Regions from separate parts of the Homo sapiens genome. Here region 2 is linked to region 1. Evidence: promoter capture Hi-C in human tissues and cell types (Jung and others, 2019). All regions are on one chromosome and are shown on one strand. Each heading gives the region's core, a stretch centred on a gene start or on the middle of the fragment in contact. The rest is flanking DNA. Distances are from core to core; before and after follow the strand shown.

Evidence for each region. Contacts are between HindIII fragments. The study calls those that stand out against the background at their distance.
Region 2: a fragment that was not itself captured here is called in contact with the fragment with the promoter of OR9A2 in region 1 in 1 of the 25 tissues and cell types used here (spleen).

Annotation. Positions count from the first base shown.
Region 1 is chr7:143,024,172-143,030,454 of GRCh38, forward strand. It overlaps OR9A2 (olfactory receptor family 9 subfamily A member 2), which reads right to left and starts at 2,961. Exons shown (of 1, transcript NM_001001658.1): 1 at 2,029-2,961. The coding sequence starts at 2,961. The coding sequence ends at 2,029. LOC105375544 (a long non-coding RNA gene) reads right to left here. Exons shown (of 2, transcript XR_001745395.1): 2 at 5,089-6,283. The HindIII fragment of the contact is 7,003 bases long and covers 1-6,283 here.
Region 2 is chr7:144,400,478-144,406,760 of GRCh38, forward strand. NOBOX (NOBOX oogenesis homeobox) reads right to left here and starts at 3,216. Exons shown (of 8, transcript NM_001436401.1): 1 at 3,180-3,216; 2 at 569-1,120. The coding sequence starts at 3,216. The HindIII fragment of the contact is 4,832 bases long and covers 1,534-6,283 here.

The DNA of each region.
Region 1 (6,283 bases), core at 1,711-4,210:
ACCTTTAAGAGGCGATTAAGTCATGAGGGATATCCCCTCATGAATGAATTAGTGTTGTTTTCACAGGAGTGAGTTTGTTATTCTGAGAGTGGATTTGTTATGAAAATGAGTTTGGCCCTCTCTTGCCCTCTCACTCTGGCCCTCTCTTGCCCTTCCACCTTCTGCCATAGGATGACACAGCACCAAGGCCCTTGTCAGATGCCGGTGTTATGCTCTTGAATCATAAGCCAAATAAATTTTCAGTGTCCAGAATCATAAGCCAAGTATGTTTATTTTCTTTGCAAATAATCCAGGCTGGTATTATTTATATTCTGTTATAGCAATGCAAAATGGACTACCACTATCTTATTATGACTATACTAGAACCTAATTATAGACATCTACTATCTAATTATTTGGATCTTATATCTTATATTTCTACCAGAAGTTGGTTTTTTAAAAACCCTATTCGCCAGCATTCAGATCAATACTTAGTATTCTCAGAGTTTTATGTTTTTCCAATCTGATGGATGTGATACAGTGGATGGCTAAGTAAACTTTGGCAAGTTATTTAAATTCTCTGAGCTTCTATTGTCTCATCTCTTAAAGGATACTTCTCTGGATTAATGAATTAGAAAAAAGGTATTCTTTCTGGTCAGAACAGATCCTCATTTACTGGGCTTGGAAACCATGGGCACCTTTGTTTAAGCAAAAGTCTCCCCTTTCTCCAGCCAATGCAGTGCCACCAGAGTCCATTGGTTGGCTTGCAGAGCATGGGCTGGCTGAATTTAAAGCTCATTCCCCACCTTGTCTGGTACTTTAATGCAATGCAAACTACCCAAACATACATGACGGTTATCACTCCTCACAGGACAAGACAACCTGGCATCCTCACACAGTACTCTTCAAAATTCTCAGTAGCCTCATCATCCCACTGCTGAACAGCTCAATTTTCTCACTTACTTTAGGGCTGGTAGAATCTGCTGATTGTTGTTGTTTAGGTAAACTTCTTCCTTATAAGGACTTCTTCCAATATTATGTGAAATTCCAACAGTTACACTACCAAACAGCCAATCCCTATAATTTCTAGAAAGCCGGGAGTCAAAAGAATGGCCTCTTATTTTTAAAAAATTCTGCCCACAGAGAAGATACACATGATGGTACTGAGACTGTTGGATTTGAGAGACGGAGAATCAAAAGACATTATAAAGTTTGAAGTCTAGATCTGGATACAGTCTGAACAGACATAGTTGTGTTTAACAGCCATAAAATACAGGATGCTCTCTAGAATTAGTCATTTAGTTCTTATTTGCCCCTGTCCCTATACTCACCACAAAGAAGGGCAGTGAAAGGAATATGCTGAAGCTTAACAAAAATAAATTTTCCTCCATTTTTATCCTCAAATATTTTTATCTTCTTTACACCACAAATATCTCCTGAATGAGAAGCATTCCAATCCTCATATCGCCATTCTAGACTGGTTCTGTGACAAAACGTAAACAGTGTTACACTTCCTTTCCAGTATCAATGGGGCAGAGAGAAAGAGCTTTAGGATATCTAAAATGCATATGGCCATCTTGCCAAAAAATTGCACAAAAATATAGGGAAGAACTTAGCAACAGGTGATGAAGGACCAAAGTGAGCATCTCTACCTTTCTACTCTGATTAGGACACCTTTCTCAGTACACCTCCCTCCACACTTCCTCCCTTCCCCAGAAAATACATTTTCAGAGATGGACTATGAGGAAATGAGTTGGGCTAATAGAATTCTTACAAAAATGTCTGCATTTCCTTTCTCTAGTCCCCCCCAAATCACAAGAATATGTTCAACAGTGGAAACAGGCAGGAACTAAGGCTATGAGAGTCTCCTGGACAGACAATGGATTTCATTATTACCAGCCTAATCTACTTCCATGGTGTGATGGCGAATTGTACACACTCTTTGACTTTTGTAATGAGAGGATAAGAGAAAAGAGGAGTTAGAATTTTCTAGGTGACTTAATAATTAACCCTGAGGCTTGGACCACCTAAAACTGACTTACAGAACAGCTAATCTTTCAGGAGTTGACAGCAGCGTTTCATCCCATCTCGGAGGGCCTCTTTGACTTTGTCATTCCGAAGAGTAAAGATGAAAGGATTCAGGAAGGGGGTTAACACAGAAACCAACAGGGAAACTATCTTATTGTACTCAACTCCCTGTGTTTGCTTGGGTTTCACGTAGAGAAACAAGCAGCTGCCATAGCCAATCACAACACAGGTGAAGTGGGAGGCAAAAGTGGAGAAGGCTTTCCTCCGGCCAGAGGCTGACGGGATCTTGAGGATGGTGGAGATAATGTAGGTGTAGGAGACAATCGTAGGGATCAAAGAACCAATGAGAATAAAAACAGCCATTAAGAAAAGGATAAACTCTGTGAGAAGAGTGTTATCGCAGGACAGTTTGAGCAATTGCCCTCGGTCACAGTAAAAATGGTCTAATGAATTTGATTTGCGGAAGGTAAACTGAAATGTGGCATAGATGGGCCAGATTTCAGAAAGAAATCCAAACACCCATGACACTATTACCACCCAAATACAGGTACTGCTGTTCATAATGATGTTGTACCTCAAAGGGTTACACACAGCCACATAACGGTCCACAGCCATCACTCCAAGTAATGCAAACTCCATGGTCCCACAGGAAAAGTTGAGCGATACATGTAGAGAAAGATACTGTCTGCATCCCAGGAAGAGCAATCCCCAAAGCATCATGGGGACAATTATGGTTGTGACCAGGATCTCCAGGGTAGAGAGGTGGCTGAGGAAGAAATACATGGGGGACTGCAGACGTTTATCCACACAGACAATCACAATGATGACCGTGTTTCCCATTAATGTCACTAAATAGAAGAAAAAGAATATAGCAAAAAGAATGTGGTGTAGTCCTTGGGACCCAGGGAAGCCTAGAAGGTGGAATTCAGTGGCACTAGAGTGGTTGTCCATCATTTAGTCCTTGATTCTGCTTGTTTTGAAGCCCAGAGATTAAAAGAGAGGTGGCATTGCTCCACATGGTCCTGCTCTCAAGAGAGAAGGAAGAAAAATTAGGTTAAGAAACTATTTCCAACCTGAGAATCAGGTGACATGTCCCTGCTACTGTGGTCGGCACATACATAGCTTGAGGTACATGTTGTCATCCCAAGTCTACAAGTGAGGCTCTCACTTCCCTGTGTAACCAGCCCCCTAGAATGGGTGAAGACATCTTCTTCTACTGGTGGTGAAATACCTTCCTTGCCTTTTTCCCCATTAAATATACCTTCTCTCGGGGGCAGAGGCTAAGACCTTTTAAATAGGCCAGTTTTAAAGGTGAGTCAATCAGGTCCCTCCGGTCCTGGAGTTACTTTCTCTTAGGTTAACTGTGCAAGATGACACAAAGGCATTTTATATGATGTTCAAAGGACAGAATTTTAAACCCCAGCTCTCATCTGTAATGGTAATGCATAGACCCACCTTTGGGGCCAGCAGAAAGGAGGCAGAGGATGTAAGACTAACATCTCTGCTGTTCCAGATTTTAAAATCTCCATTTTACAGAACAGCAAGATCTCTAAATGAGAACTCTAGAGCTTGGGATAATTTCCCAGAACAGATCCATTCTTCTCTAATTCCATTTTCCTTCCAAAGTTGTGGGAGGAAGGAAAGATGGCACCTGGCACAGAAAAGGAATAGATCTGGGACCGCCAGCTGTTAAGGATGCCTGGCTCTCTGCCTGTCGCTTCATTCCATTATTCAAATGTCACCCTTTCCAAAGACTCTTTCCAATCACTCTGCCCAAAACAGAAAAGACACACTTATTATTGGACTTCCATTTTTTTAATAACAGTTGTTATTACCTTGTATTATGTCTAATTATTTACTTCATTCCTTTATTTAACAATAAACAAATGTAGTCATGAACAGAACAAAGAAAATTCCATGCCCTGTGGAGCTTATATTCAAGGAAGAGGTGGGGGCTAGACCACACACAAGACACCTAAGTAAAATATGCAATAGTTTAGTTTGCTTATCATGTCACAGGGAAAAAAATAAGCAAGAAAGAAGGAGAGGAAATTTAAGTGTATTTATTATTTATCAACGGCATTAGAATATAAACTCCATGAGGGCTAGGACATGTCTTCACTGTTGTATTCTGAGGCTGGCACATAAAATGTACATACATAAATTAAGTAGTTATATATTTTATATATATATATCATATATCTTTTATATAGATATAGACAGATACATTATGTGAAATGAATATATCATAGATATATCTTATATATTAAATTATGTATTAATTTATCACAAGGTAACCGAACTAATAGCTGTGTGAGTCAAGATTTGAACCTAGGTCTGTCAGATTTCATCACTCACACAGCTAACTACCACACCTTATATTATATTATTATCTTATATTATTTATCTTATTTATATAAGATATATGAAATAAGATATATGAAATATATCTTATATTATATAAAATATACATATATTTTTTATTTATAAGATATTTAAATACATAAGATATATGTATCATATACATAAAATAAGTAGTGCTGACAAATTTTGCTAGATGAGGTATGGATGGATGGATGGATAATATATGATTAAATAATACTTGTTCTGGCCAGGGCCTGGGCCACATTCCCTCAATCCTATTCTGGTTGGTTTTCCTTCCTGCCTCACATTACCATTTTCCCTCCTGCCCTTCCCTTGCTTAGGTAACCCCTTCCCTGTCTACGTCACTGTTTTACTAATGGTTTAAAAAGCTTCAGGGACAGAATTGATGGGAAAGCTCAGTGTTCTGGTTTTCCACAACCTCTGCATAACCAGCACGAGATGAAGAAACATGAGCGAGAAGGACACCGACTGTCAGGGAGCCGTGACTGTGTTAGCATTGGGTCCAAGAGGAGCCGGAAGTGCTCTCTGCTATGCAGGAAGGGTCTGGAGATGAGCCTATACACTCTACTGCTCCCCTAGCCCACACTTCAATATCTGGGTGACTTTGTTCTAGAAGATAGGCAGGCCCAGGATGTCCCATCCTAAAATGCTTTTACCCTCTTCTTCATAGAGGAGACCCCTTGGAAAGACACTCACCTTTACAGAGGGGCTTCGCCGCCTCTTCTGATGTTCTCTAGGGCTCCGCTGAGGCTACCTCCTGTCCTGCTAGTGCTGAGCCATGCACAGGGGCCAGAACAAGTTGCTGCAATCCCCACTCATGGCGAAGAAGGGAAATGTCCTCCCAGAGGAGCTTAGGAAAAAGCCCAGAAATGAGTGTTGGGCAAAGTTGAGGGTCCTCTCTCTCTCCCCTCTCCTCCCTCTTCCCTTCTTCCCAAGGGTACTTAATCACCGAGTTACTACTTCTTAATTAGCCCACGTTCAGGGAGTCCCCAGGCAATCAGTCTAGTGGGAGCAGAACAAACTTTAAGTTATTCCCATTTTTTGACCAATTAAGTTTTAGAACTTTTGAAAGTTTTTGTTTGACGGGAAAACCTGAAATCTTACCAATCAGGGACTTCTTAATACTGGGGCTGCCTTCCTGAAAACCTCAGGTCTAGGTTTCCAGATGTCTCAGATTCTAAACAGTCAACTACCTCTGTCGTTTATCTTAGGCTTTTCTCAAGTTTCTCTAGTTATTCGGAGCCTAAATCAACCCTTTTCCCCCAGTAGGAGACACCACAATTGGCCTCTAAAACATGCACCAATATCCCAAAAAAGTCTGCATATTGGTCTTGGTCAAAGCCTTAACTTCACCAAATATCTTCTAAAAAGCCTGATGACTCCTTCATTCATTTTAAAAAGGCTCCTGCGTTTAGTCCTGTGGACCCTACAGAATACTGTAAGAGGTCCCTCCCCTAAATCGAACTCTATTCTGTTCTATTGTCTCAGGTTTTCACTCCTCTTGATATATGTGCATCTGTATGCATTCCAGCAAGATTCTTCCAGACTTTTTTTTTTCCTATGGCATGTCCCTGATTACCAGCTGGACCACTGCAAAGTAGAGAGAGCATAAGGACAGCTTATGTACACAGTTCTGTTTGCAACCTGGAGGAACTGACAAAATGTAAGTTGGAAATCTGTCTAATGCTGGAGTAAGACAGAAAAAGTAGGAATTACAAAACATTTGTCTGCATTTTTGTTTTCATTTTAAGTATTTTAAGTACACCTGTTAAATCTGAGAATTTCAATTGGTGCCTAAGGGTATAAATTGGGATTAATCTTTCTTCCAATTCCTTAAATTGCCCAAGCCCAAATACTTGCCATATAATTTTAGAGAAATTTTCCAAGCATG
Region 2 (6,283 bases), core at 2,700-5,199, 1.4 Mb after region 1:
TGCTACAGCAGAGAGCAGTATGTTTACTTTCTTTACTCTTCTACCCTGGTCCCAACATCATTTTCTTTTTTTCTTTTTTAGACGGAGTCTCACTCTGTTGCCCAGGCTGGAGTGCAGTGGCGCAATCTCAGCTCATTGCAACCTCTGCCTCCCAGGTTCAAGCAATTCCCCTGCTTCGACCTACCAAATAGCTGGGATTACAGGCACAGGCCAGCATGTCTGGCTAATGTTTGTATTTTCAGTAGAGGCGGGGTTTCACCATGATGGCCAGGCTGGTCTCAAACTCCTGACTTCAGGTAATCCACCTGCCTCGGCCTCCCAAAGTGCTGGGATTACAGGCATGAGCCACTGTGCCTGGCTCCAGCCTCATTTTCTGATGTGATAACCCAACCTTCCCTCTGAGGGTCAGAGATAGTTGCACTACCGCGGCCCAAGAGAGAATCCGGGACGAAGTGACATACAAACTAACCCCATCCCTCAGGTCTCCTGGGGGTAGATTCTTCACACAGCCCCACCTTTCCCCAGGATGACCCCAGATCTCTTCGGTTTCCTCTCTTTAGGGACTTACCTGAGCGGTATAGGGTTCGTGTCTTTTTCCTAATTTGGCAGGTCACTTCCGGGGGCCCCTGCTTGTGGTCTCTGTTTTGGTTGCTCTGCGCCAATGTACTGAGGAGATTGGCCAGGTGGCAGGGCCCCCGGCCTGACCCACAGGGCACTGGGTTGTGTGTGGCACGGGCTGAGTTAGGGGCACCCGGAGATGATGTTGGGGCCAGACCCATGGCATTAGGCTTTTTCTGCTTCCCGGGGGCTGGAGAATAGGACCTCTTTCCTATCTTCACCTCTCCCACTGGGAGGGAACAATCTTCCCCCTGAGTCTGGGGCCTGGAGCGGGCTAGAGTTCTGTCTTTGTGGGGAGCCCTGGAGCGGGGGGGCGGGCACAGTCTCCCAGCATCAGCCCCGGTGGCTTCTCCAGAGACTGCTGGCGGCTTCTTCTCTCCTGAGATGGTGCAGGAGGGTGGCAGTTCCTCACTCTGAGTGTCCTGAGCATGAGGGGCTGAGCCCCGGAGCAGTTCCTCCTCCCCGGGTCCTGCAGCCAGGGGCTTCTCTCCAGCTTTCTGGCCTGTGGGGAGCCAACATCCACTGACCTTAGCACCAGGGAGAAGGAAGAACTGGACCAAGAGGAAGTGCTGCTTCCTGCTTTGCAAACGGTTTGATCTTAAGCTTTAATTTGTCTACCTATCAAATGGGGTAATAATTCCACACTTACCTTCCTAGCTTGACTATTGTGAGGATTAAATCAGATAACCCAACTTCTTTGAAAAATGTAGACAAATTTATGCAATTCTGAGACGGCGTTAGCTCATGGTATCTCCTAATTTGGGGGTACTCACCCCTTGTGAGTTCCCTTTTCCCAGACACCAGGGGTATGAGTTTGAGGGACTGTTCAGGTATCTCTAAGGGATCATGTTGGGGCTGCGGATGGACCAGGAAGACAAAGAGAAACAGATTGACAGAGATTCTGCTTCTCCCAAGGCGGGATGCTGTTTCTGCTGCACAACAGGCATTATTGCTTGGAGAAGGGACAAGAAAGGATTCGATTGTCTCCAGCAGCCGAGGCAAGAGCATCAAAAGAGATAACAGGGAGAACCATGGAACTCTGTCTCTGCCAACTCTCCTCAGCTCCATACATGCCCCCCCGCCCGCACCCCCCACCCCACTACCATCCAGCACATCCACTTCCTCCCCCTCCCTGCAAAGCAGGATCTCACTCTCTGGTAAACCTCTCTTTCGAGTAAGGAAACTGGGACCCAGCTAGAACTAAAAACCCTACCACTCATCCCTAAAGCTTGCCTTCCTTTCTGTGAGCTGACTGATGCATTGGGAGCTTATCATGTTCCAGGCATGGCGCTAAGCACCTTTCAAAGATTAGCACAGTGCATATTTAATCTCTGCAAGAACGGCACTGCTAATATTCCCTTCTAACAGATGAAGAAATGAGGATGAGACAGCAGAGTAATATGTCCAAGATCACACAGCACCCTGAGCACGTACTCTGTGTACTTAATCACCACATGGAGTCCTTCCTGGGGCCATCAAATGATCCCCCCACTTTCACCTCCCAACTGACTCATAACTCCAAGAACCCTCAGCTCAGGGAGCTGCTTTATCATTTCCAACTAAATTGGAACATTTGTAATGAATGCTAAGTAACGACTAAGAGCTACTGTTACTTTAATGAAAATTGCATGAGATAGGTCTTAAGGAATAACATTTTTTTTTTTTTTTTTTTTTTTTTTGAGATGGAGTCTCGCTCCGTCGCCCAGGCTGCAGTGACATGGTGCAATTCTGGCTCACTGCAACCTTGGCCCCCTGGGTTCAAGCGATTCTCGTGCCTCTGCCTCCCAAGTAGCTGGGATTACAGGTGTGTGCCACCACACCCAGCTAATTTTTGTATTTTTAGTAGAGATGGGGTTTTGCCATGTTGGCCAGGCTGGTCTCCAACTCCTGACCTCAGGTGGTCCACCAGCCTCGCCCTCCCAACGTGCTGGGATTACAGACTTGAGCCACTGCGCCTGACCCTAGGAATGACTTTGTAACAGAGTGTCAAGGAAAAAGGTCATGGTCAAGGGTGCTGTTCCAAGTCCTTTCCTAGGACACAGGCTGGACCCGACTTGCATGAGAGGGTCTGGGCTGGTGAAGAGGGTGAGCAGGCCTCTATGGAGTGAAGGGACAAAGCTGGCTGGTGGTGTGGGGAAGCAGGGACAAATTTGTTTTACAGCATTTTAGGAGAGCTTGTACTGTAGCAAAAAGCCTGGTACCCAGCACTGTGGGTGCTCCGTAAGCACGTGTCCTATGGGAGTGATGTGCGCTAGTAAGAAGGGGACGGGTGTCAGACCTAAGACTAGAAGGGTCCTGGGGCTCCCAGGGTTCTCTCCCCTGCGCGCTGGGAGACTGGAGGCGGGCAGGGGGCGCGGGGGAGCGGGGAGGGGGGTTGCAATCCCAAAGCACAGGGGGCAGTGAGGTCGGCCTCCTCCCACCCTACCCCACCCGACTCCACCCGGCCCTCGGCCTACTGAAGCTCTTAGGTCGGCTAACGCTGACCTGGTGATCACAGGCCTCCCCCCCTCCCCGAACCCCCAAAGCCTGACCCCCTCGCACGACGGGGTCTCCACACTCACCCAGCGGTCCCTGGCAGGGATTCTCTGTGGGTTCCATGGCCTGGACTCCCGCCGCCGCGGCCGGCCCGTGATGCACAGGCGCGGCCTAATGAAGCCTCGCCGGGCGGGCAGGTGTGCAGCCCGCACGGGCCGGGCCGGGCCGGGGGAGCCGTAGCCCGAGGCTGCGCCCCCTCACCCCCACCCCCACCCCCAGGGCGAGGCCGGCCCGGGAGGCTCGGCTGGGGCAGCTGCGAGGGCGGGGAGGACCCGGGCCTGGGCGCCGCCTGCTCCGCTCCCCCCAGCCAGGAGCCCAGGCCCAGGTGCGGGTCTCCTTCAGGCGGCCCCTCCCGTGGCGGGGCTGGAGGGCGAGGCTGGGGTGGGAGGCGGGAGCGAGGCTACCCGGTGGTCTTCGGGGGGCTGGGCCCAGCCGTGGGGCTCACCCACACCCTATGGAGGACTCAGTCCTGGATCGTGGCTAAAGCCCTTCCCTGTGGACTGTGGAAGGCGATTTCTAGAGCCACTCCTCAAAGGGGAAGCGCTGGGTTGCCCAACTCCCATGCTAGGGCCCCTCCAAGCCTCAGTATTAAGGAGCTTCAAAGTCCCCTTCCTGATTTTGTTTGTTTTTGTTTTTGAGACGGAGTCTTGCTCTGTCGCCCAGGCTGGAGTGCAGTGGGGGATCTCGGCTCACTGCAACCTCTGCCTCCCGGGTTCAAGCGATTCTCCTGCCTCAGCCTCGCGAGTAGCTGGGACTACAGGCGCCCGCCACCACGCCCGGCTAATTTTTTGTATTTTTAGTAGAGACGGGGTTTCACCACGTTGGCTAGGCTGGGCTAGAACTCCTGACTTCAAGTTATCTGCCCGCCTGGGCTTCCCAAACTGCTGGAATTACAGGCGTGAGCCACAGCGCTCGCCCCCCGTACTGATTTGAGGGTCTCCAGAGCACAAAGGCTGCACCGGATGATGAAGAAGGAGCTGAAAGAGCCACAGACTCCGTAGATCCGGTACAGTCCACACACAGGAAATTCAGGTACAGCCAGGGGCGGCCCTGCCAGGGACGGTGTGGTTACTGTGTTTCCATCCATTTGGTGTTTCGATTTTATTCTCTGAGAATGGAAGGGACTTTCTTGGGGGAGATCTCACAGGGGTGCAGCCTTATGATTCCTGGTTCACGGAATGTTTCTTACTATCTTTATACAAACAAAATCAGAATTTAAAAATTCTTGCCTCTTCTGAGCGGGGAGGGGTAGAAAGTCGGAGGGCTGGTCAGATAGAAACAGGTGCTTGGAGCTGGGTGGGGAGCGGGGCGGCCTGGAACAGAATCCAGGTGTTTTGCTTTAAGGATTTAAAAGACTCTGGACACCACGTGCTTTCATGCTGAAATCAGCTGTGGGTACATTTTCCTATTCCTTTAATTGCCTTGAGGGGCTTGGCCTACACATGTGGACTTTGGAGGATTGTGAGACCTTTAGTTCTTTCTGAAACACAAAAATGTAAACTAACTTCGAATATGATCAAGACTTCAGGCATCTGCTGTTTCATTCTGATGCCTTCCATAAGGCGGATAGCTTCTGTTTTATGAGGCGTTCAGATAGATGGGGCCCAGTTTCTGTGCTAGAAATGAAGCATTCCAGGACAAGTGAGCAAGCAGTTGTGGGGCACTGACATTGCTTCCAGGATCATTTGATGGTGAAAAATCAGGACCATTTGGTGGCGACATGGTAAATGGAACCCAGGCACGTCCTTGCTCACAGAAGCTTACTGGTGGAGGGAAGATCATCAAATGATCATGTCAGGGTAGTGTGGTCAGTGGTGAGTTAGAAGTATGAAAGGCTACTATGGAGTACGGAGGAGCAGGAACCCCTTCTGGACTAGGATGGAAGCTTCTTGGAGAAGGTGACACGTGGGCTATGAGCTGTGGAGTTTACCACATCACAGTCCCGCTTAAAACCTGACAGTGACCCCTGACTGCCAGGATGAACGGCAAGCTCTGACATCTGGGTCTTTCCCCTGGATCCTCAGCTCCCCTGTGTTGCCCACCTGGGTATTTCAGTGGTGGTGTGTGTATGTCTTTTTTGGCCTAATGTTTCTCAAAGAATGTTCTTAAAACCCCCTGGATCAGAATTTCTTAGGGAATTTGTTTAAAATGGGGGTTCCAATCCCCAGAAATCTTAATTGGTTGGTCCAAGGAGGTACCCAGAAACATCCATTTGAATCCCCTCAGGTAATTTTTGTGCGTTTCAGAGTTTGAGACACTTTTAGACTTTGCAAAAACTAAGTCAGTTAAAAACTATCCTGGGGATAGGAGTAGGGGCAAGGGATGGTAGGGGCCTGTGTGGGGAAAGGAAATGACCTTTTGCCCTTTACTGAGGTGTCTGCTGCAGTGAGAAGCGGGTGCAATTAATTTCTTAACAGATTATCCTGTCACATTAAACTGAAAATAAGTCATCCTTCTCTGCCATTGTTTATGTTGTATTTCCTCTCTCTAGCTGGCTCCCCTCTGCCAGGGTGAAGGTCAGAAAGCAAAGATCCAAATTGCCCATAGGCTGTATGGCACCCTTCCACAAACTGAAAGATACAGGGTCTGAGTCTACAATAGATTTGCATAGGGACTTAGAGAATTTAAAATATTGGCATTTTTCCAGCGGGGCACAGTGGCTCATGCCTGTAATCCCAGCACGTTGGGAGGCCAAGGTGGGCAGATCACCTGAGGTCAGGAGTTTGAGACCAGCCTGGCCAACATGGTGAAACCCTGTCTCTACTAAAAATACAAAATTTAGCTGGGTGTGGTGGCACACGCCTGTAATCCCAGCTACTTGGGAGGCTGAGGCAGGAGAATTGCTGGAATCCAGGAGGTGGAGGTTGGAATAAGCCAAGATCATGCCACTGCACTCCAACCTGGGTGACAGAGTGAGACTCCGTCTCAAAAAAGAAAAAAAAAAAATTGGCATTTTTCCAAACATAGAAATGAGGTTTTTTTCCCCCACAAATAATATAGTTGGATGTTTTGTTTATTTACATGAAGAATTTTATTGGCTGCAAGTGAATTTTATCTAAGATGTACATTGCATGGGAAAATGTCTGGTGAGTTTTGTTGGGAAGGTGTTGTGTTTTTGATATATCTTGTT